6 separate regions of the Homo sapiens genome follow, and regions 1, 2, 3, 4 and 6 are each linked to region 5. The links are contacts of gene promoters, found by promoter capture Hi-C in blood cells and fetal thymus (Javierre and others, 2016). All regions are on one chromosome and are shown on one strand. The core of a region is centred on a gene start or on the middle of the fragment in contact, and the rest is flanking DNA. Distances in the headings are between cores, read along the strand shown.

Region 1 (4,095 bases), core at 944-3,443, 5.2 Mb before region 5:
ATTAATGAATTGCATCTTCATGGTGTGATTGTCAGAAAATTTCTGAATCCCTAGAAGGTCAGTGATACTCATATTGAAAAGTATATGTATGTAGTTTATATATCTCGTATACATGAACAAATGTATATAAATATATATCCAAAGTATGGTAGAAATACTTTTATTTATCAGGTTTTTAACCATCCATCTGTGGCTTCTCATTATTAGAGAAGATTTTGGAAAGTTTTCTGTGTTTACTCTGAGAAATCCATTTGTTTCCATTTTCTACTGTCTTATCAAGAGTCTCACAAATAATATCTGTTTCACTTCTGATAATACTAAAAACTTGCTTTACATACCAAGGCAAATGACAAAGTGGTTTACTGAACAGTACATTATACTTCTCAGGGGAATCTGTTTTACAGAAAATACTAATCAAAGACCATATCTTAAGAGAGTTGTGTAATACAACTGGATGATCTATAAAAGAAAGTAATGAAACATGTACAATGTTGCTAATGATTATGGTAAAATGCAAGAGAAATGCAGTAAAAAGCGTATCAAAATACATTTTAAAGCATTTTCATGTAAATATTTACAATTAATGGACACTGAACATCTTCTAAATATAAGACACATGATAGTGGTGGGCAGATATAAAGGCAAAGATGGTAAGCACTATGAGGACAGGGACTCGTCTCATCCATCTATTAGGGGAGTCAAAATCAAGTTTGGTTTAGCAAACATTTATTAAATTCCTACTATGCACCGGGCTTAGGTTAGGTGCAGGAGTGAAAAAGATAAATGAGACTTGGTGTCTGTCATGCTGTACAGGGGTTTATAATTATGGTATTGCATGTCTGGGTGTGTATTTTTGTGTGGATATATGGGGATATGTGTACTCTATAGGAATCGTCATAAATGCAGTATGGCGGGTTAAGACAAAGTCTAGCACCATGTAGGGAAACAGCCCACACACGGAGACGAAAGGAGGAGGAGGTGGAAGCCCAGCGACATCCTGGGAATAACTGTTAGCTAGAGAATGGGAAGATCATTCCATGCTGAAAGAACAGCATGAGCGTGGTCAGAGACTGGAAAGAAAACAATGTCTGGGGAACCACAAGCATCTTAGCGGATAGGTGGTGTCAGGGAAGGCCCACTACTGCACATTATCTTTGATTTATTTTGAAACTCTTGTAAAATAACTACACAAGAAATTTCTGTCGTCAAAAAAGTATCCTCCTTCATTCCCAGCATCCTTCCCCTTTTGCTTTGGTGTTGTCAGACAGCGGAGTATTAAATAATCGGGGGCAGGGTGGGGGGCGGTTGGAGGGAAGCGGTGGGAGGCGACAGACCTTGAAGATACTTATGAGAGCTATGTTAGCTGTTAGACATAGACGACCTAAAGCCCCTCATCAGATACAATCACTTTAATATAAAGACCATTTTACCTTAATTATTTCTACGGTAGCTTATGGAAACTAATAGATTGGAAACTAAATGTAAACTAAGGAGAATCTTACATGAACTTATCTAGTTGGTGCGGAAAATCGAATTCAGACTCAACAGACGCTTATCCAGCGCAACCATGCTTTCATATATTTTTTCCCTCCTGTAAAGCAAGGCTAATTTATTGCCCGAGTGGCTGTCTGGACTAACTGGAACAAATACGGACGCGGTGGGAGTTCCATTCTGGCGAAACTAGGGTGAGAGGTTTTTTGTGGGTTTTCATCGAGGAGACATGGAAACGAAAAAGATATGGAATATATTCTGAAAGTATTGGTGTGAAAAACCATGCCTCGAGGGCCAACACGAAAGTACAGAAACGATGGCGGGAAACAGTTTTTTAGGCTGGAATGAAAGTCTCCTTTGTTCACAGAGCAAACCGCCTTCAATTTCACTCCGCTCTCCGTGTCTCCTAACAATTTTGCTTCAGTATTGTCAAGGGGTATCCAAGTCTCCCACATTCATCCTAGCTAACGGAATAAAAATCTACATTTCTTTCCTACTTCAACCCTCCAGGCTAAATGAGCTACAGCATTCAGCCTGGAAAATGAGTCGAGCTTTTAACTTACGTGTAAACATTTTAAATATAATACTGTAGTCGCCTGCCTGGACCTTCCACCCAAGAACTACAACACCCAGAATGCACTGTTTTCTTTTCCGCCTTCCACGGAGGGAATGCCTAACTTGATCTCATTTCCACAAGTAATAGTCACATGACACGTTTCCCGTCAAGATGGCGGATACTCTCCCTTCGGAGTTTGATGTGATCGTAATAGGGACGGGTATGTGTAGCCTGGTGCTTCCTGGACAAAGTTTAGGAAGACTGTCTTGTTTCTGTTTTTTCTGTCAGTGGCGAGTTTTGGGACAAACATCGTGGGTCGAGAGTGGGAGGGAGAACTGAAAGGAAGTGAGGTAGTCCGGAGTCAGCGCGGGAGTTGGCAGTTACAGGGAGGGGCTGGGACCCGCAGTGCTTATCGCCATTTGAGTAGGGGTTGATCTGGTCGATGCTGATTGCTGAGGTTGGTTGCTGCGGTGATTCCTGTTAATTTCCTTAGAGGGAAGTGGATGTGCAGTGTCATGAAATGGAGGGTCGGGATTTTATCAACGGAGACGACTTTGGCAAGACATTATGATTCCTTCCTTATTGATTTCAAGGTGATATTCCCCATCATTTTGTCTCGCCATTTCATAGGACTTTTTCATAGATTTGTATGATCTTAGCATACATCGCAGCTCAGACACAGCTTAATCCTCAGTTTTACAAGAAAGATGCTCAATTATTGCCCATGTGCGTATGAATTTACTAGGGAAAGTAAACGGATTCTATTTTGTTGAGAAACCTAGGGAATTTTATTTTGTTGAGGTAGCCATTATTCCTGCTTTATGGTGCTTAAAGCATCTTGCTTTCTACCATCAATAACTAAATGTGCTGAGAATAAGGTCCTGAGTTCCAGTTCAGGTGTGTGACCTTATCTAACTCTTGTTTTCCCGTCGTTTGTTCTTCATGTTTTGGGTGGAACCAGAAACTCCTCTGCAGTTTCTAGTTGACATATTCAGTGTACAACACGTAGCAGAACACATATGGCAGCAATTTCAATTTTTTTTAATAGTGTAAGGGATGATCATTTTAGATGGAATGAAATAGGTTGTTTGATGGGGTTTTTTACTGTTTGTAGAATGTGGTAGGCCAGAGAAGCTCTGGTGGATGGGACCCTGTCCATTGTGTTAATGAATTCAGTTCGTTGTCTTCTCATACAGCCATGATTAGGAGCAGCCATGTTTTCAGGTTGGGAGTAAAAATAATAGCTACCTGTTTTCGAATGCTTAAAATTTCCTAATCACTGTGCTAAGCACTTTACAAGCCGAACATAATCCTCACAACCTTGTTAGAGTAGTAGGTACTCTCTGCATTTTGTAGAAGAGGAAAAGGGGACTTGGAAAAGTTGTAATTTGCTCAGGATCACACAGCTGGTAAATTTCCAAAGGCCCATTCCATCCCAGGAAAACAGTCAGTGGTTCTGATCCTCAGAGTTGACCCATATTCGTAGAAACAATTGAGAAAACTTGGTTTTAGGTCTTGCTTAGTGCTAGTATGAATTGCTTGAATTGGGAGGGCCAGGCACTAAATCTCTCTGAGCCTCAGTTTCCTTGTTTTTGAATATAAGGAAGGTAAAATAGATGGTCTTTATGTTGTCTAACAAAAAATGCCTGGGTAACAGTTCTCAGAACAGCATGGACAGGTTTATTCTTAGCCTGAAAATAACTGCATGGCTGCAAATAACCTGGTTGTAGCTGCTATGAACAGATGTTGGATGAGAGCTGGAAAGAGCCAATGGACTATTCATTTTTTCTTTTAAGTCTATACTAAAACTGAGAACAGCATCCATTTTGGAATAGTTGTTATACCATACTTGAGTTTTATAATCTTGCTTTTTTTGTGTAGGAACTTGAGGTGTTTTTAACAATTTTTTTAATCAACAATTTTTTTTTTCAGGTCTGGGTTCAAATTTTAATTGATGAATGTTAATTCTTATGAATGATGCTAATGTTTTTCATAAATATTTTGCCTTCTGTACAGTTCAGAATTGGAAGACATCCATCCTGATGGAG
Region 2 (4,204 bases), core at 1,170-3,669, 6.2 Mb after region 5:
GATTTTGTGTTGTATTTCAAAAGTGCTTCTGCATCCCCAAGGCTATAGAAATATTAACCTAGGCCTGGACAGTGGCTCACGCCTGTAATCCCAACACTTTGGGAGGCCCAGGCAGGCGGATCATGAAGTCAGGAGTTGGAGACCAGGCTGCCCAACATGGTGAAACCTCATCTCTACTAAAAATACAAAAATTAGCCAGGCGTGGTGGTGCATGCCTGCAATCCCAGCTACTGGGGAGGCTGAGGTAGGAGAATCGCTTGAACCCAGGAGACGGAGGTTGCAGTGAGCTGAGATCATGCCACTGGACTCCAGCCTGGGCAACAAAGCAAGACTCCATCAAAAAAAAAAAAGAAAGAAAGAAGGAAGGAAGGAAGGAAGGAAGGAAGGAAGGAAGGAAGGAAGGAAGGAAGAAAGGACAGAAATAGTAACCTGTATTTTCTTCCACTTCTTTTATGATTTTATATTTTAGATTAAGCCACATAAGCCTCAAGAATACGTTAAGGAGTGGCTAATGTTATTGCCATAATCAGAATATCAGGCTTAATGGCAATTGCAGGCTACTGAAGAATTCCTTTTACACGTTCTAGGTAATCGTTCTAGTACATGATTATGTAAAATAAGACAAAAACCTGAGTAGAGACACAGCGCCTAAATCATGTATCCCTCTGCCAAAAATGACAATATCAATGAGTCTTCTAGGGAGTTGGGCAGGTAAGTATGAGGGATATTGTTTTAACTGCTTGGAGTGAAATACTTATATTCCAGGCTGATATAACATCCATCATGGTGAGGGGGTAATTCTCCCAAAGTATTTTGAGGGCTTACTATGTGGTCGCTGGGGACACAACAGTGAACAAAACAGAGAGGTTTACTGCTCAGAAAGGGTGAAGTAAACAAACAAATAAATAACTTACTTTCAGATTAAGTGTTTTACAAGAAAAGTAAGCAGGTAAGGAGATGGGAGAAGTCGTTATTACTTTTTTCTTTTTTTTTTTTTCCTCAGACCTTTTTCCGCCTTCAGGAAGAAGTTATTTTAGGTAGGGTGGTCAGGGAAGGCTTCTCTAGGAAGTTAATAATTGCGAGGCTTGGATGATGAAAGCAAAGATATGAAAGTAAAATATTCCAGCAAAGGTAAAGTAGTTGAAGTAGGAAGAAGTTAGCTTTGTTGGAAAAACCGTAACAAAGCCAGCATAGCTGGCATGCTATTGGAAAACAGAAAAATTGGGAAAAGGAAAAGAATCTAAAAACTTGGGTAAGGTTTTCCTTTAACTGTGACAATGGGAGTGGCATGCTGTGTGGCGAGTTCCCTCAATTCTTTCAGGCATTACTACCTAAGAAAGGCCTTCTTTAACTGCCCTTTTACAAATCCCAACGTTATCAGATTTTCCCACCCTTTTACAATCACCGCCCTTTTTCGAATACTTTAGAGTTAATGCCTCAAAGTTATCAGTCTTTTAAACATCACGAATCCGTTTGTCCCTACAAGGAACTCTTCTGTCCCCCTTCCTTGATTTTTCTCCTTGGCATTTATCACTAACATGATATGTATTTATGTTTGATTTTTTCTAAATTATTGTCCCTGGCCCCTATAAAGACTCAAGAGAACTGGGATTTTGATCTGTTTTCTTTTTTTTTTTTTTTTTTTTTTTGAGACACAGCCTTGCTCTGTCACCCAGGCTAGAGTGCAGTGGCGAGATCCCGGCTCACTGCAATCTTCGCCTCCTGGGTTCAGCTATTCTCCTGCCTCAGCCTCCCGATTAGCAGAGATTACAGGCGCCCGCCACCACGCCCGGCTAATTTTCGTATTTTTAGTAGAGACTGGGTTTCACCATGTTGGCCAGGCTGGTCTCGAACTCCTGACCTCAGGTGATCCGCCCGCTTCGGCTTCCCAAAGTGCTGGGATTACAGGCGTGAGCCACCGAACGTGGCCTGTTTTCTTTCTTAATTTTGGTCTATTTTAATTTCCTAAGCAGCTACAATGGTGCTTGACATGCAGTTGGCACTGTGTAAATACATGTTGAATAAAACGCAGGCTACTTTTTGAACTGGTCTGCACGGATTGTGTGAACTGATGTGATGTCAGGGTAGACTAATATCACATTTCTCTCTCTCTGAAAATGTCTTCAAGCAGTCAGACCGTGACGTCCTTCAGTTTTCAAAATGGGAAAGCGAAGGTTCCCACAATTCTCAGAACGCAAATTTCTCGCCACAATTCAAAATGGCGGAGGAGGGTGGGGCCTGTCACATGGTGGGCGTCATAACAGCTTTCCTTTTCCAAACCGCCGCCCGCCTTGCCGCGTCGTCTGCCGTCCCCCTCCTCCTCCCGCGGAGCCTTTTCGAGGAATCGACTGGGATTGGCTAATAGGCTGGGAGTGGGGCTGCGGTGCCGGGACGCGGCATCATCACTTCCTGTTGTGGGCAGTCGTTTCCTGTCGCTGCTTGGTAACAATGGGGAAGATAATGGCTGCCTGAGCAACGTCTCCGAGCAGGCGCTGGGCTAGAGGCGGGTCTCAACCAGCTACTCATTGGAGGCGGGCTTGAGAGCGGCGGCCAGGGAGGTGCGGAGCAGCCTCGGCGGCGGCGGCCGAACCAACCGAGTCGGATCCTGACCCTAAAACCTAGTAAGTGAAGACTTGGGAATCCTGTGAGAAATGATGTAGAGCGAGAGGAAGACAGCGGAGCCGCGGCTGCCGCGTTCTCTCAAAATGGCCCGAGTGACGCGTCGTGGCAGAGGCTCAGCGCCGCCTCCGGACCCCAGGCCCGTTGCTGCGGGGGGCTCCGTGGCGTAGTCGCCGCTGCCATTTTAGTTGAGTGGTATAGTCGACAGGCTCTTTGAAGGGGAAGGAGGTGGGTAGTACTTCCTCTCGGTGGCCGCGCGAGCTGCAGCCCAGGCCCTCCGGAGCCTTAGGAAATCGGGGGAGGCAGTTTTTGAGTTTTGGCCTCAGGCGTCAGAATCTTAGAACGTCTCAGGCTTTTTCTTCTCTGTTCTCTGGAGGCTTCCCTGACCTCCCCGCGTTTTCCATGGCGGGCTTGGGTTTGGGAAAAGGGAAGTAAAAAATCAGGCTGCCCCAAGTGAGATGCTGGCAACTCTTGGGCCTTTAGATTTCCAAAACCTCATTTTGAGCCCTTCTGCAGGGTATTACCAATTAGGCGCCCCCTGGGGCCGCGATGACATCTTCCCTGAGGATCTGAGGCAAATGTGGTTTACTCCCTTGCTCGAATAACCCTGGCATATCCTTTGCCAGGTATCACTGGAAGGATCCCCCCGCAAAAGAGAGGGAAAAGCCGTTAGGTGTTTGTTGTGTTCTCCTGGATAAGGGATGGAATTGGGCCAAATTTTCAAGTTAATTTGTGTTTAATCCACCAACAACTCAATCCCTCCCCCATTAAAAAAAAAAAAAAAAGCCTAGGGGGGTCTCTGCTTCTGCAGACGGTACCTGCCACGCATGCCATAGCTTAGTAACTAGTATTAACCGGTTGGGCTTCTGCTTCCTGAATACTCGGTCCCTTTTTCCCTTATGCTGATTAATTTCAAGATGGAGGAGACAGCCACGTTCCTTCCCTAGACAGTTTCACCATACTTATTCCACAGGTTAGTCTGGGAATCTGAGGCCTAGCAGTCTTGTTATTGAGGTCATTTTTTTTTTCATTTTGGGGCAAGAGGAAGCAGTTGTATCAGATTGTCATCTTCCATTTGCAAGACCCCACAATGATTTTTTGCCAGAAGTAAGGAGCCCGCATTTCCTGAATCAGAATTAACCGCAGTGTTTTGGACTGATTGAAAGGGGGAAGAAATAATAAACCTACTGCTACTAATCATTTCTTTCATTCTTCGTGATTATAGACAGAGTAACTACTTATCACCCCATTAAGTACATTGTATCTTCCCTGGAGGACTGGCACAATTATAACCCCTCCCCCCCCATGACTTTTCTAAACTGTAGAAATATAGCTTAGGTAGCTAGAAAGACCAATCCACTTTTTAAAACTTGATTTTAGGACACACTCCACTTACTGAAAAATGTTACAAAGATTTTTTTAGTCCATGATGTTCTGATGAATTTTAATACTTTAGTTCCTACCTTAGGCTAGTGTAATGTGCCAGATAAGTCCTTGAAAGTGACTATCAGAATCTGAAAATAATTACTGGTCTGATAAGGAAAGGCTTATTTTAAGCAAGCTTATAATAAAACGTAAATTGTCT
Region 3 (4,053 bases), core at 810-3,309, 5.5 Mb after region 5:
TTCACCCTGAAGAATAAGTATCCTGAACGTACATAAAGGAGACACAGGGAATTCCAGATGAGAGCAGAAACAGATATGTTTCAGAATTGTTCCTAGGAACTATGAAGAAGGGCCTTCATCCCAAGCTAAGGGGGCCAGGCATGGTGGCTCACACCTGTAATCCCAACATTTTAGGAGGCCGAGGCACGAGGATTGCTTGAGGCCAGGAGTTCAAGACCATCGTGGACAATATAGCAAGACCTCCATCTCTACAAAAAAATAAAAAATTAGCCGGGGGGCAGTGCCATGTCCCTGTAGTCCCAGCTACTCAGGAGGCTAAGGCAGGAGGATTACTTGAGCCCAGAAGTATGAGGGTACAGTAAGCTGTGATCTCACCACTGCACTCCAGCCTGGGTGACAGAGAAAGATCCTGTCTCAAAAATATCAATCAAGCTAAGGATCCTGGACTTTATTTGGTAGGCTCTGAGAAGCCAAAGAAGGTTGCTGAGTAGGGCAATTACTGAATCAAAGATGTATGTTATGAAGATTGATTGTACAGTAATGTATGGGTGCATGTGGAAGAGAGGAAAAACTGCAAGCAGAGAAACAGTATTATTACAATAGTGTAAGACAAGGTTTCTAGAGTCTGGTTTAGGGAGTGGCATCTGTCATTCAGTAGCCATTTTTAAAAGATCAAGGCATGTCCCCCCAACCCCTGCCACTAAAAAAGGGGTGTTTTGATATGCTGCTCATTTAAAGTGCTGCCAATAAAGAAAATAGCTGTAGTTCATCATGGTACATATTTCCCTGGAGAAAACCCATTTACAACGTAGGTTTAGAAATTTCAAAATTACATTTTAACATGAAGTTCTGGCTACATTGGTTTGTGGGATTAGGAAGGGCCAAAGGCTCCTTTAGGCTCCCTTTGATCCATTAACTATGTTCTGTGAGTTTACAGTGAAAAATGATAAGAGTTGGACGATAAGCTTTCATGTGATCAAGTAAACCTGAACTCCAAGACTAAAAGACCTTGTTTGCAGTAGCAAATACTAAAGGGTCAGGGCCTGAATAGAATTTCCTTGAAATTGCTTTATTTCTATTTATGAACCTGAGGTGATTGGTGGTAGTGCATAACCTTGGATAGTAACCATTTCTGGGTTATAGGTTTACCATGTGGACAAGCACTGCCCACATAGTATAGGGGAGTTTACCTGCCTGGAATGGCCAAGGAGTTGTCTTTCCTGGGAGAGACAAAGAGCCCAGAGGCTACCTAAAGTCTTCCTCCCCACCCAAAGTGATGTTAGACACCGGAACTTGGAAAGAGAAGGTTGGCGTTCGAGTTACACGACACACACACACACACACACACACACACACACACACACACACCAAATAAAAGGTCTTACCCCAATCTCCAAAGTTTGCCAAGGCCAAGAACACTGTCTCTTAGCCCTTTTACTTCCAATCCCCGCCCACAGCCTGCAAGACCCTCCACTTCCCTTTCCCCTTCCGCTCTTGGCTTACTTGTCACGGATGATGGTCTGTAGCTCCCGTATCTGATCATTCATAGGCAGCAGCTTAAGCTGCGCCCCGATCTGCCGGGAGAGTTCGCAGTCCTCTAGGAAGGAGTTGCCAGCTGGTGCGTCATAGCTGCTACTGTCACCACTACCACTGTTGCCCTCTGAGTTGAGGCTGGAGCCGCCGCAGGCCCCAGAGTCCAGCTCGGCCGGCAGGCTAGAATGGGCGTACCCCGTGAGGAGAATCACCTTGGCCCTGGAGGCTCTGTTTCCCCCTGCGTGGTCCAGGATCAGATCGCCAGGTCGCAGCTGCTCGGGACTTGGGGTTGAGGCAGAGTTTACTTGCTGGTTGTGACAGGGCATGGAGTCCGGACACTGTAACTCCGTGGCCATACACCGGGCCCCGGGCTATCCCCGCTGCTACTGAACACTAAAGATAAAGAGGAACGGGTAGAAAGGACAGATGCTCACGTGCTCTCTCGGTTGCTCCCGCCTCCTCAGAACATCTAACCCTGGCTGTCCTTTCACCCCTAGGCCGCTGTTGGTTTCCTTTAGCACACTTTGGCTCACTCCCGCCCACACCAGACGTACTGCCTGCCTAGACACCCTATTGGCTGCACTCCCCGCCACTCTGCGGCGCCACTGCTTGTTAACCCTTTGAGTCACCCTTGCTACGTGGGTTCCCACAGGTAGCTAAGCCCCCGCAGCGAGGCCAAGGATGCCAGCTTGAAGGATCTTCCGGGGGCCCCTGGGGCTTCTGCATTCAGAACTTTGGGTGATTAGTAGAGCCAGGAAAAACTGGGGGTGGCAGGTGATGATACACAGTTACACACGTAAGGCCCATGTTTTCAGACTTTGTGACCTAGCAGAGAAATTATATCTCAGTAACCGCATCTTCAGTTAGCTTGTCTGCATAACAGAAGGAAGAAGTAAAAAAATGCCTAGCAGGCTGCTGAAGAGGCTGTCCTCTACTAGACTGTTCTAGAAACTGCAGCTTCCCAAGTATGCTTGACCGCCAAAGCTTTTCTTATCTTTATTGGTTGGGCCCCACAGTGTACACGTTGTCATGGGGACTCAGGCGGCATTTCAGATCCACTATCATTTTGAATCTTTAAAGTACTTGGAAAGACGCTTATTTTTAAGTGTATGGACTCACTATAACGGCCTGAGGTAAGAGTGTCTAGGGCAGTACTTTTCAAACATCAGTATGTACCACAATAATTGTAGAGCTTGTTAAAATGCAGGTTCTTACGGCTCATTTTTGAGATTGTGATTCTGTAGATCCGAGATGGGATACAAGAATCTTTTTTTTTTTTTAACTTTTAAGTTCAGGGATATATGTGCAGGTTTGTTACATAGGTTAACTTCTGTCATGGGGGCTTGTTGTAAAGATTATTTCATCGCCCAGGTATTAAGCCTAGTACCCACTAGTTGTCTTTCCTGATCCTCTCCCTTCTCACACCATGCACTCTGCAGTAGGCTCCAGTGTGTGTTGTTCCCCACTATGTGTCCATGTGTTCTCATCATTTAGCTCCCACTTATAAGTGAGAACATGCAGCATTTGGTTTTCTGTTCTTGTGTTAGTTTGCTAAGGATAATAGGCTCCAGCTCCATCCATGTCCCTGCAAAGGACATGATCTCATTATTTTTTATGGTTGCATAGTATTCCATGGTGTATATGTACCACATTTTCTTTATCCATTCTATCATTAATGGGTAGTTAGGTTGATTCCATGTCTTTGTTATTGTAAATAGTGCTGGAGTTAACATATGTGTGCATGTGTCTTTAATAAAACAATAATTTATGTTCCTTTGGGTATATACCCAGTAATGGGATTGCTGAGTTGAATGGTATTTCTGTCCTTCCTTTTTTTAACATGCCTATACAGATTTTTTTATAATTTTTTTTTTATTTCCATAGGTTATTGGGGAACAGGTGCTGTTTGGTTAGATGAGTAAGTTCTTTAGTGGTGATTTGAGAGATTTTGGTGCATCCATCACTCGAGCAGTATACACTGTACCCTATTTGTAGTCTTTTATCTCTCAAGCCCTTCCCACCCTTTTCCTCCAAGACCCCAAAGTTCATTGTATCATTCATATGCCTTTGTATCCATCATAGCTAAGCTCCCACTTATGAGTGAGAACATACAATGTTTGGTTTTCCATTCCTGAGTTACTTCACTTAGAATATTAGTCTCCAATCTCATCCAGGTCGCTGCAAAAGCCATTAATTCATTCCTTTTTATGGCTGAGTAGTATTCCATATATATATACATATATATATATACACATATATATATGTGTATATATATATATACATATATATGTATATATACACATATATATACACATATATATGTGTATATATATATATATCTCACAGCTTCTTTATCCACTCATTGATTGATGGACATTTGGGTTGGTTCCACGTTTTTGCAATTGCGAATTATGCTGCTATAAACATGCGTGTGCAACTATCTTTTCTGTATAATGACTTCTTTTCCTCTGGGTAGATACCCAGTAATGGGATTGCTGGATGAAATGGTAGTTCTACTTT
Region 4 (4,169 bases), core at 832-3,331, 6.5 Mb after region 5:
TATGGTTTGAATATGTCTCTCAAAGTTCATATGTTGGAAATTTGATGCCCCATGTGGTGGTGTTGGGAGGTGAGGCTTAAAGGGAGGTGTTTGAGTCATGGGGGCACCACTCTTATGAATAGCTTAATGCTATTATTGAGGGAGTGGGTTTGTTATTTCAGTAGTGGGTTCCTTATTAAAGGATGAGTTCTGGCCCCCTCTTGCGCGCACTCTCTCTTTCTCTATCTCTTTGCCCTTCCACCATGGGATGATGTAGCAGGAAAGCCACTGTCAGATGCCAGCTCCTCAGTCTTGGACTTCCCATTCTCCAGAACTGTGAGGAAATAAATTTCTGTTCTTTATAAATTGCCGAGTCTGCAGTATTTTGTTACAGTGGTACATAATGGACTAAGACAATACTAATGGGTATGAAGTTTCTTTTTGGGGTGATGAAAATATTCTAAAATTGATTGTAGTGGTGGCTGCATAATTCTGTGAATATACTAAAATCCATTGCATTGTACACTTTAAGTTGGTTAACTGTATGATATGTAAATTATATATTAATAAAACCATTAAAACAGAAAAATAACAGAGATAAGAGCATTTGTTAAAATAGTGTTGTAGAATTTGGGGTAAAATTTCTTATATTTTAACTTTTGTGTAATAATAAATGATTATTTTAATTTAGAAGAGGTTCTTTGTACCACTGAGATTTCGGCATTTCTTTTTTATTTAATGCATGCCTATTTCTCTTTTTTCTTCTTCATATGCACATTGTTGTATAATTTTTTGGGCGTATTATATAACAAATGCAAACCCATTTTTCTCTGAATAATGTTGATATAACATTCTTAAGTTAATTTGAGAGGATGGTGATGTATAAGTTTATGAGTTTTAGGATTTATGAATTTGCGGGTCTCAGTTTTTGGTATTTCCAAACTGGCTCTTTTAGAAAGCAATAAGAACCAGACACCAAAGTAAAACATAATAAAGAGAAACAAAATATTATTTTGTATTCTTTCTAGTTCACACCCAAAGAGGGATCTATTTCAGAGCCTCTTAAGTAAATAATGCCATTTCCCTCAAAATTAATATTTGAGTTCTTACAGAAGACAAGAACAGGCCTTGTAGTAAGCAGTGAAGGACATTGAATCTCATTTTTAATGTCCAGACAATACCAGGGTTGTGAATAGAAAGAAAAGAGCTTTCCATGTTGGTGGTCTACTGCCTCTTACCCCCAAATTGATTGAACACTTTTGCAGTTTTTGTTCTGGTTCCCTGTCTCTGGATCTTCCCTGTGGGTCATCATCAAAAAGGTGTTCTCTTTGCCCAAGACAGGCTGGTTGAGCTCACCCTGAGAGCTGCTTTGGAGAGGATGTGTGGAAATATTTTTTTTCTTTTTTTGAGATGGGGTCTCACTCTGTTGCCCAGGCTGGCAACATCATAGCTGGCACAATCATAGCTCACTGTAGCCTCGACTTCCTGGGCTCGAGTGATTCTTCCACCTCAGCCTTCTGAATAGCTGGGAGTACAGGTGCGCACCACCACGCCCGGCTAATTTTTGTATTTATTTGTAGAGACGGGGTTTCGCCATGTCACCCGAGCTGGTCTCGAACTCCTGAACTCAAGGGTTCCGTCCACCTCGGCCTCCCAAAGTGCTGGGATTACAGGTGTGAGCCACCGCGCCCGGGCTACAATTATTTAAAAAAAAATTTTTGCGGTAATTTTTACAAATTTCAACATCAGGCATAGGAGGAGAGGAGTAAGAGGCCCAAGAGGGCTGCAGACTGGCAGGGAAAGTGAAGAATTGAAGGGTAGACCACTAACGATAGCAGAGGAAATAAAGGTAGATGGTGGGCTAAGAATAATGGGAGAGGGATTGACGAAAGAAGTATGGGCTGAGGGAGGGATGATGGTGGAGGCCAGTGTGACCGAGGGGAGGGGAAAGGTGGAAGAAGCAGAGTGGGATAGCGTCCTGGGAAAGAAGTGAAGGAGGTCGGTGGACCGCTAAGGGTTAGACTCCTAGAGGCTGGAGAGCGGCGCGTGGGGGAGGCGGGGCGCGGAGGGGGGGTTAAGGGGCGTTAGCAGCGCATGCGCTGGAAGCACACTGCGGCGATTCTGGAGAGGTTGTCCTTTTCTGGCATCAGCGTTGCGGCTCGAGGCAAAGCTGGTCCTGTGCCTGCTGTCCATTGCCGCTAAGGCCTGCTGCTGCCATTCAGGCGTGTCTCTCTCTCTCTCTCTCTTTCATGCCGCTCTCTCCACCCCATCTTGGGACGGCCAGCTCTAAGAATTCCTGCTACGACACTGAATTCAACCAGGAGGTAAAGGAACGATGTAGGGGAAGAACAGAACATGGAGGGCGGCGGAGGGAACTTGGGCCAGGAAGATCCTTAATTTGTGCATTTTTCCAGTTCACGGGAGGAAAAAATGGAATACGTTACAGGCCCCAGTTTTCCAAAAGGATGTTGAGCATTTGCTTCCCATTGTGAAAGGAATGCGGGTTCCTTTCCTCTAACTAGAGTCAAGGCACCTGAGCATCGGTGTTTTCCATAATGTTCCCTGTTTAAAACATTTGTGGTTCGTCATTTGTAGCAGATGTATTTAAAGGGCGAGGCCTTAGGATTATGTTCATCCGATGGTTTGTGAAAGTTTTCCTTGCCTTTGTTCAGGTTGACCGGTCTTATGTGAATCCTGGGGTACTCTAGCCCCCTCCCTTGGAGTTGGGACCGATTCCATCTAGATCTGGGATTCACTCTGATCACCTGCAACGCCTTCTTTCCCCGATTCAACTTCCCTAGTTTATCGCATCTACTCGCATTAGGGAAGGCTGGTAATGGCTCTCCTTGGGCACTGGGGCAGAATTGTGGCGAGAAACACGTCCAGATAGCATCAGGCATGCATACTGTATACAAATGGGAGCAAGAAGAGAGAGGACTATCGCGGTGCGCAGGGTATTTGAGAGGCTGGATGAGGAGGCGCGGCGCCGAGGGGCGGCGCTCAAGCTTACAGTATTTGAGAAGACCTGAGTTAAGGGGACGGGCTCCAGTGGGGCGGGGGTGGGGAGAGGGAGGCACGCATGCGCAAGGCTTGAATGGCGTCGGGGTTGGAGGGTTGGAAGGTCGGGAAGTGAAGGACTCGCAGGCATATTTAACAACGCAAAGTTGCTAGGAGTTGGTACCAGCGTTTGGGAGGTAGAGGTGGCGCTCATGCATATTTGAGACAACATCTGGATGGTTGGGGAGAACGGTAAGGAGGAAGCGGCGCGCATGCGTATTTCAGACGGAGTGCCGGGGAGGGGAGGCGCTCAGCATTCGGGTAATTAAGGTTGCAAAATGGCGAGGGGGGAGGTAAGCTGTCTTTGCTTGGCCATCTTGGGCTAGCAGGCCTTGCAGAGAACTACCTTTTTAGCTGAGTGAAGGGATCAACCTGAGTTGGAGTTCTCCTATGCTGTGGCCAGATCCACTAGAAATTAACCCAGAATCTTAGCCTCTCAGTGGCCTATCGGTAAGTGGGTACAAAAATGAGGAGGCGATGATGACTCTGCAAAAGGTTGCGGCAGCTGGCGGTGCGTAGGAAATGCGTAAAAAGGGAGCACTTGGAGACAGGCCACATTTGGGCAGTACGCATTCGGAGGGCTCTCTGGCTTTCCGATCTTGGGTCGCTGTACTTGGCTCTGAATACAGTCACCCCATCAGAGTAGCAAAACACTGTGGTTGTAGTGTGAGAATCCAATGTTAATGTTGGCCGAAAGCTCTTGATTTTCTTCCCTGAGAACATAGGCGTGAGGATTTGGATGTGTTTCCAAATGCTTGTTACTCTTTGCCGTAAACCTGGAATTTGGACCTATGGCTGCCTGGGACTCATACTGTCGTGGAGAAAGATTGAAAAGTAGTTAATGGCAGTGGTGGTATGAAGGTAACCTGGGCTTTCACCCTTTCCTTTATTTTTTCTTCTGTAGAACTTTCAGCACGGTTTTGTCAAGGGAGAAGATTAGAGTTTCTATTTTAAAGGCAGATGTACTGTCATGACTCTCTGAAGACTTGCTGTTAATCGCTAAAACTAGTAAGTTAGCACTTAGATACAGACATAGTTAGAAGGAGCACAGGATTAAAAACTGAAAAAAACATCTTTTCCCAGTAATCCTAGCTATTATTTCATGGTGGTCCTTTTCCTTCTCTGGGCCTATT
Region 5 (4,404 bases), core at 1,571-4,070:
ATTTTTATCATTTGTAAAATGAGAATAACAATTGAACCTATCTCCTAGGGTCATTGTAAAGATTAAATGAGGTAAGCACGTAAAAGTGCTGAGGACATGATAATGGCTTGTTAAGTGTTAACTGTTACATACAGGTCAAACATCCCTAATCTAAAAATCCAAAATTCAAAATGCTCCAAAATCCAAAATTTTTGAGTGTCAACATGATGCCACAAATGGAAAATTCCACATCTGACCTCAAGTGGAGGATCACAGTCAAAAGGCAGTCAAGACTTTGTTTCGTGCACAAAGTTATTGAAAATATTATATAAAATTATCTTCAGTCTATGTGTATAAGGTATAAATGGAACAAATGAAATTCAAATTTAGACTTGGGTCCTATAGCTGAAATATCTCATTATGTATATGCAAATATTCCAAAATCTGAAAAAGTCCAAAATCCAAAACATTTCTGGTCCCAAGCACTTTGGATAAAGAATACTCAACCTGTACATTATACTTCAACTATAAAATTATTCAGTCTGGTATTTTGCTAAACTACTTGCAATGAGTTGTCTAGGTCTCATGTATCTTTTTATATCATTTTGTTGTATCAATTATTCATATTTGTTTTGTCAAGTTCCATGGCAATAACAACCAAAGATAAGCCTATCACTTCACAATTACCTCCTGTGGTTATTGCTTTCTGAGGAAAAAAAAAAATTACAAGTGAGAGCTAATCAACCTAGGCTAAGTTTATGTCAACTTAGAAATTCAAGGCCCACTGTGGTCAGTGGCAGAGCTGAGTGAGGAAACCCAATTCCCAAGAATATAGCCTTAAATTTAGATGAACCTTCAAATTGTAATATTTCAATGTAAATAATACATGCAACTTAAAATGCATTTCTGGTCTCATCAGGTTTAGGTGAGGGAGTGGGGTGGGGACAGGATGTTACGGGAAAGTAGGGAAGAAAAGGACCCGGTTTACTAATCTGTGTCAATTATCATACCAACCCCTTTCATCATTGAAGATTTCAGCAACCAAATACTGAAGGTCAGTGCGGTACCAAGGGTTGGGGTTATATATTAAACAGTGTAGTCCCGAACCTGTAGAAAACTATTGATACCTTGCATAGAGATAGGCAATAATACATAAAGATTATTGAAAACTCTTGGTTAAAGTACTTTAGTAGTATTTGAAAACACAATAGGAAATTACCCTGTAGGAATGGGATGTGTTAGATCCCAGCCGTAGATACGGCACGTGTTAAACTTTCAGAAGGGGAAACATGCTTCACGGCTGATTGCAAATTTCTCATGCAATATTTGTCAGAATCCAGGAGCATTTTAAGTGGTCTTCTAACAATATAAGCCCCGCACTTTGGACTGGTAAGTACAACATTTTCATTTGGTAAATAATAATAATTTTAAACAGAAACAAGTCACGACCAAATAGCGACTCATCCTCCCCCAGGCATAAAACCCTTTAGCCAGCTAGCCGCCTTTCCACGGGGTAGAGTATAAACAGCAAACAAAACCGCTTTGGTACCGGGAGGAAAAAGGGGAAAGGAGTCGAGTCAAAACACCGTCTCTTAAGTTCCTCAAGATCAACCCAGGGGGAAGGGTCCTCCACCGGAAAGGGCCGGATTGCCTTCACAGGAAGGGAAAGTCACTCCGGAGCTCGCAGACGCGAATGCCACCACAGAGTTCCAAGGCGGCTGCCAGAGCGTCGGCCGTCAGTTAGCACCTCCCCCTCCTTCCCAGAGCTGTAGCTAAGCAACCATCGGGCTCCGGGAGAGTCTAGGCTCAGCTGCTGTATTAGTGCCTCTAGCGGGGAACTATGAGCGCTGCAAAACCCTATCACCATTTTTACCCTCCCCTCTCTCCACCCCCTTTGCCCCCGCCCACCTCTTCGCCACTTCGGCTCCTCCCTCTTCTCGCTCCGTCTATCTCTCTCTCTCTCTCTCTCTCCGCCCCCCCACCCCCCGCGTCTCTCTCTCTCTCTCTCTCTCTCTCTCTCTCTCTCTCTCTCTCTTTTTCCTCTCTCTCTCTCTCTCTTCTCTCTCTCTCTCTCACTCACTCACTCTCTCTCTCCCTCTCCCTCTCCTCTCCTTCCTCCTCCGCCTCCTCAGCTCTTGGGCTAGAATATCTATGGGTCGAAACGTGATGCGATGAATTCGAGAGAGAGCGAAACTAGGACGAGGAGTGCGGCGGAAGCGGCGGGACTCCCGGGCATGGGGGCTTCACCACAATAGAGGCAGCGCCCCCACCCGCCCCCGCCAGCCCCTCCGGAGCGAAGCCCCCAAACCCCCTCGGGAAAAGGATGGCGGCAGCACCTACCCAGATCGAAGCCGGTGGGTAGCTGTGTCGGGGGGTGGGGGGGTGCTAAGGGAATGGGGGCTTAGCGCGAAGGCTGTCAGTTTCTTTTGAAAAAGCTTCTATTTCTCTTCTCTACCTCCCTCTGAACCTCTTTTCCCCCCTCTTCCCCAGAGCTGTATTACCTGATCGCTAGGTTCTTGCAGTCTGGACCCTGCAACAAATCCGCTCAGGTAAGGGGAAGAAAGAGATCTGGGAGTCGTGGTGAATGGTCCCAGTGGGGAAATCGAGGCAGCGGGACGAGCAGTTCCGTTGAGGGTGAGGGAAAGGCCGGCCTTGACTAGTCAAACGGTCAGCGGCTGGGCTTTAAGTGTGGAGGGAGGAATGGGTTGATGGCCCGAGCTGCTCCTCATATCTGTGTTTCCCTTTTGCTCAGGTGCTAGTGCAGGAGCTCGAGGAGCATCAGGTACGGAGCCCCTTCGGGAAGGGTGGGGAGGGTTGAGGTGAGACTGGAGGAAGGGGAGGGCAAGTCAGGGGCGGAAGACGGGCTGGGATAGAGGCTTCGATCTGGGTACCCGTAGCTGTTGTCACCGGGGTGAATTGGCTTCTTCCCTCAAAAGGGGCAGACAACGCTGGGGTCTTAACTCGTCCCCGCTTTATGCTTGTGGGAGGCAGTTTTTCAGGATTTCCTTCTCGACCCCCCTTCCCCCCCCCCCCCATATACTTGTCTAGCTCTGAGCCAATAGCTATCAGGCCGAGAGAAATAAAGACGGTAAAGTGTTGAGGACTGGGACACAGGTTGGGTCCAGTTGATGGGGAGCGGAGGCTTTTCCTTCATCATTTGCCTCCGCTTCCCCCTTTCTTTTCGTCCGGCCCCCAGCTGATTCCGCGCCGCTTAGATTGGGAGGGGAAAGAGCACCGAAGAAGCTTCGAGGATCTGGTGAGTAAAGTTTTCATTTCAACTTAACCTAACTCTTTCACCACTCCCTCCCCACCTTGTACCCCCAACCCGCCCCCCACCTCTCAGCCGACGAGGTTCTAGAGCTCGGTGCAGAGCCAAAGAACGACTGCCCCTTCCCCCATCCCTGCTAGTCGGAAAAAGGGTACCTTGCCCTCCCCTTGGCCCTGCTTGTTTCCACCCGAAAACTTTGAAGAATGTGAGTTGATTATCAGAGGTGCCGTGTTGTGGATTATGAATATGTTACAAACATTGGGGAAGGCCCATTGTAGGCGGAAAAGGGAGAGAAACCAAGGGGTTATCTTGGGGCACGTACTAAGGTCTGACGCTGGCCAATGACAGCGTTGGTAACAGCCCGGAGTTCCGGATTAGTGGAAGAAAACTGGTTTCTGGTTGGTCCTGGCCTGAAATACGGGAACTAAGGCCAGGCTTGGTCTTTTTTGGGGGGGGCGGGGGGGCAGGGGGGAGGCGTGGGAGGAAGGGGCTCTGGAGGGGAATTGACGGACCAGGGATTAGGAAAAACGACATAATTAAAAATAATAAGGAGCGTCAAGCCAATTTCAAATTTTGCCGGTTAGGTAATGGTCTACTGAGTAAAAGCATAATCGTTACGTATCTCCGATTTTATAAGCTCATTCAATTATCAGTTAAGTCGCATTTGCATAGACCCGTTTTCACTAAATAGAAACTGAGTTATCACTTTTTGAGAATTGGTGAAACACGATTTTGGGTTTACAAGGAGACAACAATGGACATATTTAAAAATGGAATATACTTTAGTGAAGGACCAAAGGCATTGGTCTATGTTGTTTCTCCTGCAAATATAATTCATAGTATAAATGTACCTTGTGTTCAGCATTGACACACAAAAACAGGTGATCCTTTTTATTTTGCGGGGGAGGTTCCCTTGTGTTAGCTGCTGCCACAGTGCATTGGAGGGTAGTGAAAGGAGAAAGGAATGATGTTACTAAAATCTAAATTCAGCTATCTTTCCTTCAAGTAAGATCCAAGTGGAGGAAAATCGGACAAAGTTAAAGAAAGTTGGCGGTGTATGATAGACTCTAAATATAAATGATTTAAAATTTGCTTGCAATAAGACTATATTTAAATTGCTTCAATGTTCATTTTGTTATTTTTGTTTGTGTTATCTT
Region 6 (4,550 bases), core at 405-2,904, 5.7 Mb after region 5:
TGTAGCTGTCTAACACAGAATAGATGCTGAATAAATATTTGTTGATGACAATATAGTCATTAATATGAAGCCATTACTGATCTACTGTCAACAATACAATAATAAGCTAGAAACATCCAATTAGTCACTAAGTCTTGCCAATTCCATCTCCTAATTGCCCTGCAATCGATCTACTGCCACTGCTACTGCTAGGTTGAGGCCTTTATTTTATGACTGAACTATTGCATTAACTTCATGACTTCAATATGAACTCCGTCCAATCCAACCTTCTCACTTAAGCCAGAGTAGCTTAATGGACATATAAATCTGATCATGTTACTCTCCTGATTAAAACTCTTCACTGGTTATAGGATAAAGTATTAACTTCTTAGAATGAAATAGAAGGCCCTTTACCATCAGGTCTCTGTTCACTCAGGTTAACCTCCTACTACTTTCCCAAACTCCATAGACTCCTGAACCTGAAAATATTTTCTTATGCCTTCTTGCTTTTAACATGTCATCTTCTTTACGTGTAATTCCAGTCAACCTCTTCAACTTGAATTCTATTTTTCTTTAAATAACTAGCTCAAGCATCCCCTTGAATGAATCCCAGAACAAAAAAGCTAACTGCATGGGCTACAGATTTCTGTTTTTCTTTATCAGACTTACTAGTCCAAAGTACCTCTTCATAAGAAGTCCATAATTATTTGTCTCTTTTGTGTGAAAAGTTGGAGAATGCAGCAGTGAATATAAAATTGCAACTGCATTATTGTCTCCGGGGTTTCAGGTAACATTTACAACTGGAAATGCAGTTTCCTAGATAACTGTAAACATATTTTGACATTTTGTTTGATAATAGTGGTGACAAAAGAATATAAGCCTGTCTTTAAACATGGTCTTCTCTCCATACATTTCACTTTACCACCCTTCAGCCAACCTAAGCGATTTTTCAAGAATTAGGGACGCTGCAAAAACCAAAGCGAAGAGCTAGAAAGAGTGACAAAATTAGTAAAGATGTCTGTAGTCTCTCTGTGTGTGTGTGTGTGTGTGTGTGTGTGAGACTGTCCCACGAGCAACAGACCAAAGGAAAACTGCCCCAAGGTTTGCGCAACAGAGAACAATCAGCAAAGTTAAAGTCCTTACAGGACAGAAAAGCAGTAAATCTTACAGCTGAAGCCTCCTCCCAGGGGAAATTAACGTCTGTAGTTTAATCTTTCCTTAATTCAGAAGGGAGTGAAGATAAGAATATGCATAGGGAAAATGGAGAGAGGGGAGCGTGACATTGAGTTGGAGGAGGTAAGAGAGTATTATGAGAGACAAGATGGGGTTGACAGATTTAGCAGATACAATATTTGGGACACACGCACGAAGAGATGATTCGTTGTTTATGTAAAATTGAAACTTAACTAGGTAGGCATCCTGTATTTCATCTGGCAACTCCAGGAAAAGAGAAAAATACAGTGTTACTCCAATATTCCCGGTTGTGTAAGGAAAACAATCAAAGCTCGGCCCTAAGGAAAAACAAATAAAAGAGGCTGTGCGAATGCATCCGAATCTTCAAACAGAATCCATTTCCGGTCTGGGGCCCTGGGAAAACAAGAAGAGGAGAGACAATTAAGGTAGCCGAATTCAGTCCGCCAGTGTCCCATAATCCTCTTCTCTCGGTTCCTCTTTCCTCGCTCAAGATGGCGCTGCTCGCGATGCATTCTTGGCGCTGGGCGGCCGCGGCGGCTGCTTTCGAAAAGCGCCGGCACTCCGCGATTCTGATCCGGCCTTTAGTCTCTGTTAGCGGCTCAGGTCCGCAGTGGAGGCCACATCAACTCGGCGCCTTGGGAACCGCTCGAGCCTACCAGGTGAGATGCCACTGACATGGAAGAATAGGGTGAAGGGCAAGGGGACCTGTAGGGAAAAGGTTGCCCTCCTGACCTCGGGGCAGAGAGAGCACCAAGAAGAAAGTCATGGCTAACTGGGAGCAGCAGTAAGTGAAGGAAATTAACGTCAGTAATTTGAGGAAAGGGCGAAGAAGAAAACCTTTGAGTTCAGCAAAGGGAAACGGGGCAGGAGGTTCTGGGCAGAGGACACCTGGAGCGCTGGAGGCTCTCGGAGTCATAGTTTTTCTCTCATATTAAGAGTTGGGGTAGACACCATTCCCAGCCTGCTTGCCTTTCTAAAGACGAGGAAGACTGGATTATTTTCCCCAATTAGTAATGGAATTTGGGACAGTTTATCTGTGGTTCAGATTTTACTCAGTTGGAATTAGCAATTCGGAGAGCACTGTAATGACAGCAAGCTATCTATAAACAGGTGGCGCCAGTTAACTCCCTTGCTGACAGGCGTGCTTCTTGATAGGCCAAAACCGTAACTATCTTTCCAAAACATAGACCGCCCTAAATTCTTGTATAAATATGACTGTCCTAGATCTGAAAAATACAGTGATGTTCTCTGTGCACAGGTCATTTTGGAAGCCATAGGCTACTTATCCTTAACTTATGAATGTAGCTATGGTTGTAGTGCCTCCTAAAATTTGAGTCCATTATTACCTCTCACTCAGGAACGGTTTTTTAAAAAATTATTTGTACTTAACTGTACTAAAGTATATCTTTTTATTTTCTGTGTATTGACAAGAGGTTTAATTGCCACCACGTATTTATCACTATCACTTTAAAATATTGTCAGTTTTGTATGAGAAACAACCTCTTAAATTTTGATTCTTCATCTACAAATATTTAACGTCTACCTTGTACATAGCCCTGTGCTAGATGATAGGGTACTAAGAGAGACATACAGTTATGCCTTCAAGGATTGTACAGTTTAGTTAAGGAGATTGGATCTATGCATTACAAAAATAACTGAAAAACACAGTGGTGGGTTAATTAGCAAATGAATAGTATGTACAATAAAGGCTATAGGCATCCAGAGGAAATAGTGATAATTAAGGACCAGGTTATAAAGAGTATTTCATGCTGGTGATAGAACTGGGGAGAATGTTCTGAACAGGGAGAATAGGGAATGACACTAAGCATGTGGAAGGCTGATGGAATGACATTTATAATTCATTCAGTAATTATTGAACACCTCTACAGGAGCAAACAAAATATAAGTCCTGTCTTTAAAGAGCTTAAAATCTAGTGGGAAATATGTAAATTAATCGGCAATTAAAATATAGTGGAGCTGTGTAATAATGGGAAAGGTACAAGGTATGGGACAGTATATGTGAGGGGTATTAAGTCTAATTGTAAGGTAGTGAAGATTGCCTTAAGTAACTGATATCTAAGGCAAGAGCTGAAAAATTAGAAGTTAGCCAGTTAAAGAAGGAATCGCATGTGCAAAGGCCCACAAGTCAGAGAGAACATGGACCTTTTCTAGAACTGCACGTAGTTTAGACTGTAGTGAGTCATTCAAGATAGGAAATAGCAGATTAGGCTAACGAAGCGAATCTAGATGATTTCATTAAGGTTTTTAAAGTATTTTATGGTTGAAAGTTTCTAACACATGATCTCTTGGGAATGGTTTTTGTTCTGTAGTTCTCCAATAAGGCAGATGAAGTTAAGATAAAATTTGTAAATGTTATCTTAGATAAAATTAGATATCTTAAGATAAAATTTCTTAAGCTGGAAGAATGAGGGGGAAGAGGGAAAAGGAGAAGTTATTAGGAATCTCAGAGGAGGCAATGGCAATACAAATTTAGCTTTCTCTCTTTCCATGAACGCTATCTCCACAACTTCCTTCTTCCACTCTGTCCTTTACATCCTACCATTTCCTTTAGTTACCATTTCCTCAGTGTGCAAAACAAGGGAAAGATGTTACCTTTGTTTTCTGTTTCTTAAAGGCATGGAACTCTTGCCATCCTTTTTTTAAAACAGGGTGAGAAAGGAATGATTACAAAGTTTTCAAAGTAGAAGCTGAGGTAACCTGAGGTACCTGCAAATTTGTGACTTGTGATTAAGATTACAAAATAATTACTGAATTCATACTTTTAGGACGATCATTAGTATATAGCATAATATTTTAGAGCTGAAAGGAACCTTAGAGCAGTGTTATGAAATAATGTTAGTGGGTTGGATTAGCACTTTTTTAGATGAAATTCAGTAGAATATAAAGAAAATAGCAGTGCTTTTTACATCTTAAGTGAAGTATTGTTTCATGAACTTTTATGTGTATATACACACACACATATATATTTTATATATATATATACACACACACACACGCACACACACACACACACAGTCCCACATGTATGTGATTACTGGAATTCATTGTAAGTATTTCTCACCCAGTATATGCCCTAGACCTGGGTTGTGGAATATGGTAGTTCTTTTGGATAGGTACTGTTTTGTTTTCATTTGTTGGTCTGACCTCATGGACCAAGAATGGGAGCTTTAATTTCTCCCAGTAGCAAGTTCCACCTTCCTACTCTTCCACCATTGGCTGCTAAGAGTTAGCAGAGTAGATAAAAATTAAAATACTTTACTCCTGGCTTTCATATTAACTGAAGTGGGAATATAATAACAACACTAGGGAAATAATCCTCCTATTCTATATTTTAGAGGTTCTAGTTCATATTTAAA

The links. The method cuts DNA at HindIII sites, captures the fragments that hold promoters and counts their contacts. A CHiCAGO score of 5 or more calls a contact.
Region 1: a contact is called between the fragment with the promoter of CHM here and a fragment that was not itself captured in region 5, in 1 of 17 cell types (total CD4 T cells). The highest score is 5.5, in total CD4 T cells.
Region 2: the fragment with the promoter of RLIM here is called in contact with a fragment that was not itself captured in region 5 in 6 of 17 cell types (fetal thymus, activated CD4 T cells, monocytes and 3 more); the score reaches 10.3 in fetal thymus.
Region 3: the fragment with the promoter of UPRT here is called in contact with a fragment that was not itself captured in region 5 in 6 of 17 cell types (fetal thymus, naive CD8 T cells, total CD8 T cells and 3 more); the score reaches 13.1 in fetal thymus.
Region 4: a contact is called between the fragment with the promoter of FTX here and a fragment that was not itself captured in region 5, in 4 of 17 cell types (fetal thymus, total B cells, non-activated CD4 T cells and 1 more). The highest score is 26.5, in fetal thymus.
Region 6: a contact is called between the fragment with the promoter of ABCB7 here and a fragment that was not itself captured in region 5, in 3 of 17 cell types (total B cells, non-activated CD4 T cells and naive B cells). The highest score is 6.9, in total B cells.

Annotation. Positions count from the first base shown.
Region 1 is chrX:86,045,656-86,049,750 of GRCh38, reverse strand. It overlaps CHM (CHM Rab escort protein), which reads left to right and starts at 2,193. Exons shown (of 15, transcript NM_000390.4): 1 at 2,193-2,267. The coding sequence starts at 2,219. The HindIII fragment of the contact is 19,030 bases long and covers 1-4,095 here.
Region 2 is chrX:74,612,839-74,617,042 of GRCh38, reverse strand. RLIM (ring finger protein, LIM domain interacting) reads left to right here and starts at 2,419. Exons shown (of 4, transcript NM_016120.4): 1 at 2,419-2,621. RefSeq lists an enhancer at 2,495-2,814. The HindIII fragment of the contact is 9,843 bases long and covers 1-4,182 here.
Region 3 is chrX:75,272,091-75,276,143 of GRCh38, reverse strand. UPRT (uracil phosphoribosyltransferase homolog) reads right to left here and starts at 2,059. Exons shown (of 7, transcript NM_145052.4): 1 at 1,504-2,059. The coding sequence starts at 1,889. It overlaps LOC124905200 (a long non-coding RNA gene), which reads left to right and starts at 2,108. Exons shown (of 4, transcript XR_007068269.1): 1 at 2,108-2,666. RefSeq lists enhancers at 1,679-1,888, 2,049-2,098, 2,119-2,168. The HindIII fragment of the contact is 1,552 bases long and covers 968-2,519 here.
Region 4 is chrX:74,291,486-74,295,654 of GRCh38, reverse strand. FTX (FTX transcript, XIST regulator) reads left to right here and starts at 2,081. Exons shown (of 7, transcript NR_028379.1): 1 at 2,081-2,303. It overlaps LOC124905199 (a long non-coding RNA gene), which reads left to right and starts at 3,059. Exons shown (of 2, transcript XR_007068266.1): 1 at 3,059-3,897. RefSeq lists an enhancer at 2,827-3,617. The HindIII fragment of the contact is 8,135 bases long and covers 1-2,986 here.
Region 5 is chrX:80,807,370-80,811,773 of GRCh38, reverse strand. It overlaps BRWD3 (bromodomain and WD repeat domain containing 3), which reads left to right and starts at 1,897. Exons shown (of 41, transcript NM_153252.5): 1 at 1,897-2,333; 2 at 2,470-2,528; 3 at 2,732-2,761; 4 at 3,176-3,235. The coding sequence starts at 2,303. It overlaps LOC124905202 (a long non-coding RNA gene), which reads right to left and starts at 2,966. Exons shown (of 2, transcript XR_007068278.1): 1 at 2,481-2,966. RefSeq lists an enhancer at 1,583-1,662. The HindIII fragment of the contact is 808 bases long and covers 2,417-3,224 here.
Region 6 is chrX:75,153,387-75,157,936 of GRCh38, reverse strand. It overlaps ABCB7 (ATP binding cassette subfamily B member 7), which reads left to right and starts at 1,654. Exons shown (of 16, transcript NM_001271696.3): 1 at 1,654-1,832. The coding sequence starts at 1,665. It also overlaps a transcript of UPRT not described here. RefSeq lists an enhancer at 1,544-1,973. The HindIII fragment of the contact is 6,846 bases long and covers 1-4,550 here.